Linked DNA regions of Homo sapiens: region 2 is linked to region 1. The links are contacts of gene promoters, found by promoter capture Hi-C in blood cells and fetal thymus (Javierre and others, 2016). All regions are on one chromosome and are shown on one strand. Each heading gives the region's core, a stretch centred on a gene start or on the middle of the fragment in contact. The rest is flanking DNA. Distances are from core to core; before and after follow the strand shown.

Region 1 (3,838 bases), core at 942-3,441:
TTATTATTCCCACTTTACAGTTGAGAGAATGGAGGCTCCAAAAAGCCACCTCTCAAGGCCATGCTCCCCAGTTAGTAAGTGGTCCAATAGCACAGGATAACTCATGTGTGCAAATTAAGGACTGCCAGACTTAAGAGTGTCAGGGAGAGAGAGGTCCTTCCTTCTCTCCCACTTTTTCATCACCCCCTTCTCTTCCCCCTCTGCTGAACGTTGCATCCCCACGGCCAAGATTGCACCCCCTCTTCTACAGACAACATCCAAGCTGCTGGGACCCGACCCAGCGCCACCTTGCGAGCCCAGCATTTCGAGGGGCAGGCTTCCAAACAGGGTAATAATCGTCCCATTAAAATTAATGTCCATGAAGTGAGCCGTTAAAAGCGTGCAGATTAAAAATGGGGGGAGGGAATTGTTCAATTTAAATCCAAAGGGCTTTTTAAATAGACACTGTGTCTTCATTCTTGGAACGCTACACCCGGGCAATGGATCAGGTCCCCTCTGTAAAGACTAGGGGGATTAAGGAGGTGAGTCCCAGGAGAATGGGAAGTGGTTCTGGCGAGAAGCAAAGGGAACCAAGGTCTATCCAGGGCCCACTGCGTGCCAGGTGCTTGGCACACATTTCTCTCATTTAATCTCTGCCCCAATCCTGGGATGGAGGTATTATTATTCCCAGATTACAGGGGGCAGTATAAAACCGTGGTTAAGAGCTTAGAGCCTGCGGCATACTGCCCTAGTTCAGATGACGGTTTCATTCTTAGCTACTCTGTGAGCTAGGGCAAGAACCCTTACCTACCTGTGCCTCAGCTTCCTCATCTTTGAAATATTATAGTAATTGCATGTAGAATTGTTGGGAGATTTACCTTTAGGCAGCAGAGGCAAGGGCGCCCAAAGCCCACAGGTGCCAGACATAGAAGATGCGCAGTAGGTCTTGGCCATTATGAAGCCTAGAATAATTGGAGCTGGGTGAGGGAAAAGGCCACCAGAATCACACAGTGTTGTGGGCTTTGAGCCCTGACTTTGTTGTCATTTCACCACGCTGTGGGCCAAAAGGGACATTTCTCCTCCTGATCAATTCAGACCAAAACTAAGTTCACAGACTCGAAGAATCTTGGTTATACTCTGCGGTGGGAAGGCAAGAACGGAAGCTCCCTCAGCAGGTTCCAGACTCCCAACTTGGAGCCATCTCTGGACTCATCCCGATGGTCTGAATCCCAAAGTTGTCTGAATCCCAGTCGATTTAAGATCACAGGTTTCATTCTCCCCCACAGAATCCTGACAGCCGCCCAGCCCATCTGAACCTTCACCGTTTGTGACAACTGCAGACGCTCCAGTCTGGAGGTGCACAGGAGTGGCTGTCGGATTGGAAAAGGGGGAATTAAAGTCCCCCGCGCCCCTCCTCTCGCCGACCCCTTAGGGTCTCCACTGCGCATTAAATCGGGGTCATCGCAGAAAACTGTAACGCCATCAGGAAAATAATGTTCACAAAGAAAGCAGACAAGAAGTTTCCCTTTAGAAAGCCCCTTGCGAGGGTCTTTTGGGTGCGGGTGCCGGGCAGCGAGAATGCCTCCGTCCGCGCCCCACGCGAGCTCAGGTGGGCCCATCCAGCCTCCCACCGGGCGCTGGGGGCACTTTAGGGTCAGGTTTCTAGCCAGGCGCTGGGGGCACGTTAGGGTCAGGCTGAAAGCCTACAGGTGCCAAGTCAGACCTGAAACGAGGCAAGTTGGGTGTAATCTGACCCTTCCATAAGATTTTGAATCCACCCACCTCCCCCAAACAAAACAACAGCCTCGGAATATTTTTGAATAATGCAGCCGAATTCAGCATCAGCTTCATCCAAAACGGCAAACAAGCCTTTTTCCCTCGCCAAATCGGAACTCGAGCTGAATTCAGGAAAAGGGGAAGGAGAACAACCTTCCCTCGCGCTCCGCGCCTCCGCGGGGGTCCCCCGAGACCCCCAAAGCCCAGGACCTCCGCTGCGGGGAGCCTTCTCGCGCCGCCCCGCGCCGCGCTCCCCGTCTCCCAAACCTCGCGCTCCCTAGCTGCCGGCGCCGCTAGGGTTAAAAGTTACCTCTCGGTTTCTTCTGCCTGCAGCCCCCCCCCCAACCCCCGGGGGCCGGATGATGTAACCCCCCTCCCCGCCCCCCTCCACCATGTGACACTTTAATTAATAATAGCGCCGTCAGCACAACAAACGCACAACACAAGGAGAAACTTGGTGTCCAGGGGAGGCCCCCGGCGGCTGGAGCGCGGCGGCAGCGGGCGCAGAGGCCGGAGGGAGAGGAGGCGAGGGGCGGCCCGAGCGCGGGGCGGGAGCGAGGCCAGCGGTCATGTGCCCGTGCCCCCTGCACCGCGGCCGCGGCCCCCCGGCCGTGTGCGCCTGCAGCGCGGGTCGCCTGGGGCTGCGCTCGTCCGCCGCGCAGCTCACCGCCGCCCGGCTCAAGGCGCTAGGCGACGAGCTGCACCAGCGCACCATGTGGCGGCGCCGCGCGCGGAGCCGGAGGGCGCCGGCGCCCGGCGCGCTCCCCACCTACTGGCCTTGGCTGTGCGCGGCCGCGCAGGTGGCGGCGCTGGCGGCCTGGCTGCTCGGCAGGCGGAACTTGTAGGAACGCGGGGCTTCTTGGTGGGGCCGGAGCCGAGACCCAGCCGGAGCGAGCAACAGGTACGCGAGCGAGCGAGCGAGAGCCGGGGCGCGGCAGCTGGGCACTGGAGACGCTGGGCTGGCCCGGGAGCGGGAGAGTGGCAAGTTTGGCTTTCTTCTTTTCCCTTCTCCTTCTTCCTCCGTTCTCTTCTCTTGCAAGCATCTCCACCTCTCCTCTTCTACCCAGTCCCCAGTCTTCCCTTCCAAGTGTAAGGTCCACCGTTTCTGCCCCCATCTCTGCGAGTCCTTAAGCGCATCTTGCTACTCACTTATAGCTCAGTGGCTTGCGGAGGACTTCAGCCTCCATAATCCCCACCAGCCCCACAAATAAACACACAATGCAAGTAAAAAGTGTGCTTGCTATGGGAATGTAGTTGTAAGCCACGCCAAATACTTAAAATCTATCGCACTTCCAAGAAAGGTCCCCGGTCCCGTTCCAATCCTCTTGCCGTTCCTGAGTCGCCCCCGTCTCCATCACCTTTGCTCCCAACCTCTTGTCCCTAAGTGTCACTTCTCCAATCTCTGATCCCCATTATCTGGCACCCCAAGCGCATCTCGAGACTTCCTCCCCCTCCAGGTTTCTGGCTGGCCCAATCTTTCTTCCCAAGCTCCGCGCATTTGCAATTTTCCTCTGCCCTGCCAACTTCGCTCCTTCTCGAGTGAGGTGTCCTGTTTAAGGAGTTTGGCTTCCTTCTCCCCAGACGGTTGTAGCTGCTACGGGAAGGAGACGCCCTCGGAGTGGGCTGGAATAGGGGGCTTTCAGGGAAACTCCAATGGGAAGCCTTAAGGAAGGAACATTTATTGAGCTCCTTCGGGGTGCTGGGCACTGTTTAGGGAGGTCATGTGTTGAGAACTTAGGACAGGAAGTGGGTACTGAGCACCTAGTGTGGTTGGTATCAGTGGGAGGAAGGTACTAGGCTCTTGGGGTGGGGGGATCATTGTGCCCTAGCTGTGCGCCTGGCACTGTGCTAGGCGCTTTGAGGAAGCACACAGCGTAAGCATCGTCTTACTACTCTGGATCCTGGAGTAGCGAGGAGCGCTGCAGAGAATGAGGGAGAGAGAATCAGGCTGAGCCCACCATAGATGGGTCTAGGGCCGGAAGGTGAAGCTCGAAGGTGACATAGCCAGCCGCCCTTAGGTCCCCGCCCCCGAGCCCCGCCGCGCGCCGCAGACACCCTGGGAAGTTGGAGCGGCGCCTGAAGG
Region 2 (3,838 bases), core at 813-3,312, 160 kb after region 1:
CCGGCCAGAAAAGTACTAAGTATAATAGAAAGTTCTACAGAATCTTTACTTAATTTCCTTCTGTTATTAATAATCCTGTTTTTAATGTTATCACTTTATTTTAAATTAAAAATATTCCCAAAATGATTAAAGATAATTTTAATAACCACATACGTCCCTCCCATGTTAGTAGTCTGTAGTATAGTAGTTCCCCCTTATCTGTTCTGAGACCCTCAGTGGATGCCTGAAACTGCGGCTAGTACCAAACCCTATCCATACTGTTTTTCCACCTGGTAACTGAGTGACTACTAAGTGACTAACATGGATATGCTGGATAAAGGAATGATGCACAGCCCGGGCGGGACGGAATGGGATGGCGTGAGGTTGCACCATGCTACTTAGAACAGTGCTCAATTTAAAACTTAGGAACTGTTTACTTCTGCAGTTTTTTATTTAATATTTTTGGACCACAGTTAACTGCGAGTAACTGTTAAACTTCAGAAAGTAAAACCATGGGTAAGAGAGACTACTGTATATCTTTCCATACCATTATCTTAGCTCTTACAAACTTATATGTGCATATTATCATAATTATTATCATAATATGTGTGATAGGCACATTATTCTGCAACTTGCTTTTTCCCTTGATAATACACTATAGGCATGCAGTGGTCTGCAACCCTGTCTATGTATTAAAATCATCTAGGTACTTTAAAAATACTGATTCCCAGGTCTCCACAGATTTTCCTGCCCATAGGTGGGCTTAGGAATCAGAATTTGTTTTTATGCTCCCTACATTAATCTAATGTGCAAAAGTCAGTTTGTAGAGCTGCTACTCTAGTTAAATAGCTATCAGTCGTATCTCAGTTTGGTTGTAACAGTATTGTTATACCAGTGTTCATTCAGTCATTTCTCTGTTATTGGGGTTTCAGGGGTTTTGTTTGTTTGTTTTTGAGATGGAGTTTTGCTCTTGTCACCCAGGCTGGAGTGCAGTGGTGTGATCTCGGCTCACTGCAACCTTTACCTTCTGGGTTCATGCAATTCTACCACCACGCCCGGCTAATTTTTGTATTTTTAGTGGAGATGGGGTTTCACCATGTTGGCCAGGCTGACCTTGAACTCCTGACCTTAGGTGATCCACCAGCCTCGGCCTCCCCAAAGTGCTGGGATTACAGGCATGAGCCACCACACCCGGCAGGTTTCAGGTTTTTTATACCATCGAAACGATCATGTAGTAAACATCCTTGTATTTCCCTATACATTGGTGTTTTCCATAGGACAGACCTGAGTTTCCTGGGCCAAAGTGTATGTAGACATATATTTTTAAAATACGAACAGAACTTCCTAGATTACTTTCCTAGATAAATTTTAGTAACGATAAAGATCTTTACCATTTTTTAAGTATATAAGCTTCTTCATCAAATTTTCAAGATTAGTCCCTTTTGCTTAAAAAGCAACACATGACAGGTTATTTTGAAAGGTAAAAGCCACAGAACTCCGTTAGAACAGTGAATGTTTCAAGTCCATCATTGTTTTATTATCCAGTAGCTTACTGAAGCGTTCAGAAGAGGCCGTCTCAAGCTCGGCTTGTTTTCTAGCACTTAGGCAGCTTCCTCTTTAGTTTTTTTTTTAACAGTATAGAAAAGATTATAACAGTATAGAAAACAGTATAGAAAAGGCAGTTTTGTAAGCTGGCTCCTAGCGGACATAGCTTCAAGACCAGAAGAGATGATCTTCAACTCTTGACTCCAGGGCAACTCTTCCAATTGCTTGTCCGGGTAGAGGGCTGGCCGGCCTGGGTGTGTTCCGTAGCGGGTTACATACTCAGTGGTCCTTCACAGAAGAAATTCACAAGTTGACATGCTTCATTTTGCTCCTAAAATCAATGTCCTAATTCACGTTTTCCCAAACGTCTTCCACCCAAAGTACCTGTAACTGCAAATGAAAGGGATTTTGTGCTCTAGATGTCTGAGATGAGAGTCACGAAAGTTTCTTCTGCTCTTTAAAAAGTGTATTCACATTTTAAGTTCTGTTCCACAATGTATTTGTTTTAATGTGAAAAATATTTTAAATTACTTGCCATCAGAAAGAAAAAGTCCAAAACTTTTCCTCTCCAATTTTTTCATAAAATTAACACTTTTATACACATTTATGATGTGCATGCCATCCAGGAGCCACGCATGTAAGTATGCCAGTTTTCAAGCATAGCACTAGCTTATTACTTTTTCCTACAGGTTTATTTTATGACTTTGGCTCAGGCTTTGCTTGTACCAGGAGAGGGCAGATTCTGGTAGTGTAAGCCTTTTATAGTATTTCTGTCCTCTTACTGTAGTTTCTGTGAAAAACTGGTGAAATTGTAAGAAAGGATACTGGATACTTAACCTTCTCACTTATGGTTTCTTTGCAGGAGGAGAGGGCAGTGAGAGATAGGAATCTCCTCCAGGTTCATGACCATAATCAGCCCATCCCGTGGAAAGTGCAGTTTAACTTGGGCAATAGCAGTCGTCCGAGCAATCAGTGCCGCAACTCCATTCAAGGGAAGCACCTCATCACGGATGAACTCGGTGAGGCTGGCTTCCCTTCCTCTCCAGGCGGTCAGGAGCGTAGGCTGGTTGGGCCATTCATAGGGTTTTTGTTTGAATAGGGATTCCTCTGCAACACATTTTCTCTCCTCGCTCATCTCCAACATTCCCCAGGTTTTTGTCTTCTATACCCTACTCATCATTCAAGGTTCCCTTCAACATCAGAGAAGCTTGTTTTGATAACTCTAACTCTTAAAAGTTCTTTCTGCCTACAACTTACAACATGAGCACTGTGTCACGCATCAGTCCCCAGGCCCCTTCTGACAATCTCTCCCCAGCCTCACTATTTCCCCATCTTGCCAATCTTTTTTTCTCATCTCGAGGGTGAACTCTATAGGATAAGAGCTCAGTTTTCCTTCTTGGTAACCTGAGTAAAATTCACATTGTGTTGACACTCAAGAAATGTACTTGTTGACTGACCAGAATGCATTCCCAACTCAGCAGTGATGCCAGTGACAAGCTATATTTTTCAGATCACATTGAAAAAGCAAATCATATTGAAAATAATGTGGGTTTTGTTTTTTAATAAGCAGAGTGAAGTTTAGCAAAAGGAAGTTACTTCCATAAGATGACATAGTCAGTGGGCAGACATTGACTTGGAGTTCAGGGCTTCTTACAGGATGTGTGACATTCAGTGAGAAAACATGAAATCTTACACTCTCACTTTAATGTTTTAGTGCTGGGTTGTGAGCACAGTTTGTCATCTTTTATCATAGCTAGTGAAAGAATATTCTTTTGATTAATTTGGGTAAGACAGAGACTCTTGGACTCTTTGAGTAAAAAATTCCAGGAGTGAAGGAATCAATCAATTAATAAAAATCCAAGAGCTATAGGTTTTATTTTTCTCCATGAGTATGGGTGAAGTAAGTAGTTTAGTAAAGAAAGCATGTAAGAACTTACGCTTCTTAGCAAGCAGATGCCACTGTGAATATTGCCGGGGTAACACATTATTAAATAAGATCATTTGCATTTACAAACTTTTCAAAGGCTGGAAGTTAATTTTCAAGGCAATAGCAACACAGTATGAGGTTGTGATCTTACAGGACTCCTTGTTGGAGATAACGTTTGAGTTAGTAGATGTCTGATACAAGATGAGAGTTCTTGATGAGCTTGCTTTCACCAAGCTAGAAAGAGCTGCATTTCAAGGCTGAATACTGTAAGTTGGCAGTGGGGAAAAAAAAGGATGCCTGAGATGCTGACACTTACAAGATGAAAAGTAAAAGGCAGAAAGAGAATTTCAACTGGCAGAGTTTAGGTCACATTATATACAGTTGCTA

What was found. Contacts are between HindIII fragments. The CHiCAGO score rates a contact against its expected background, and 5 or more counts as called.
Region 2: a contact is called between a fragment that was not itself captured here and the fragment with the promoter of HRK in region 1, in 1 of 17 cell types (total B cells). The highest score is 5.4, in total B cells.

What each region holds. Positions count from the first base shown.
Region 1 is chr12:116,879,794-116,883,631 of GRCh38, reverse strand. HRK (harakiri, BCL2 interacting protein) reads left to right here and starts at 2,191. Exons shown (of 2, transcript NM_003806.4): 1 at 2,191-2,656. The coding sequence starts at 2,325. The coding sequence ends at 2,600. RefSeq lists an enhancer at 1,037-1,998 and silencers at 2,504-2,583, 3,462-3,662. The HindIII fragment of the contact is 8,246 bases long and covers 1-3,838 here.
Region 2 is chr12:116,721,772-116,725,609 of GRCh38, reverse strand. SPRING1 (SREBF pathway regulator in golgi 1) reads left to right here. Exons shown (of 5, transcript NM_024738.4): 2 at 2,387-2,543. Among named protein-coding and RNA genes, the nearest start is that of SPRING1, 14 kb to the left of the region's middle. The HindIII fragment of the contact is 1,342 bases long and covers 1,392-2,733 here.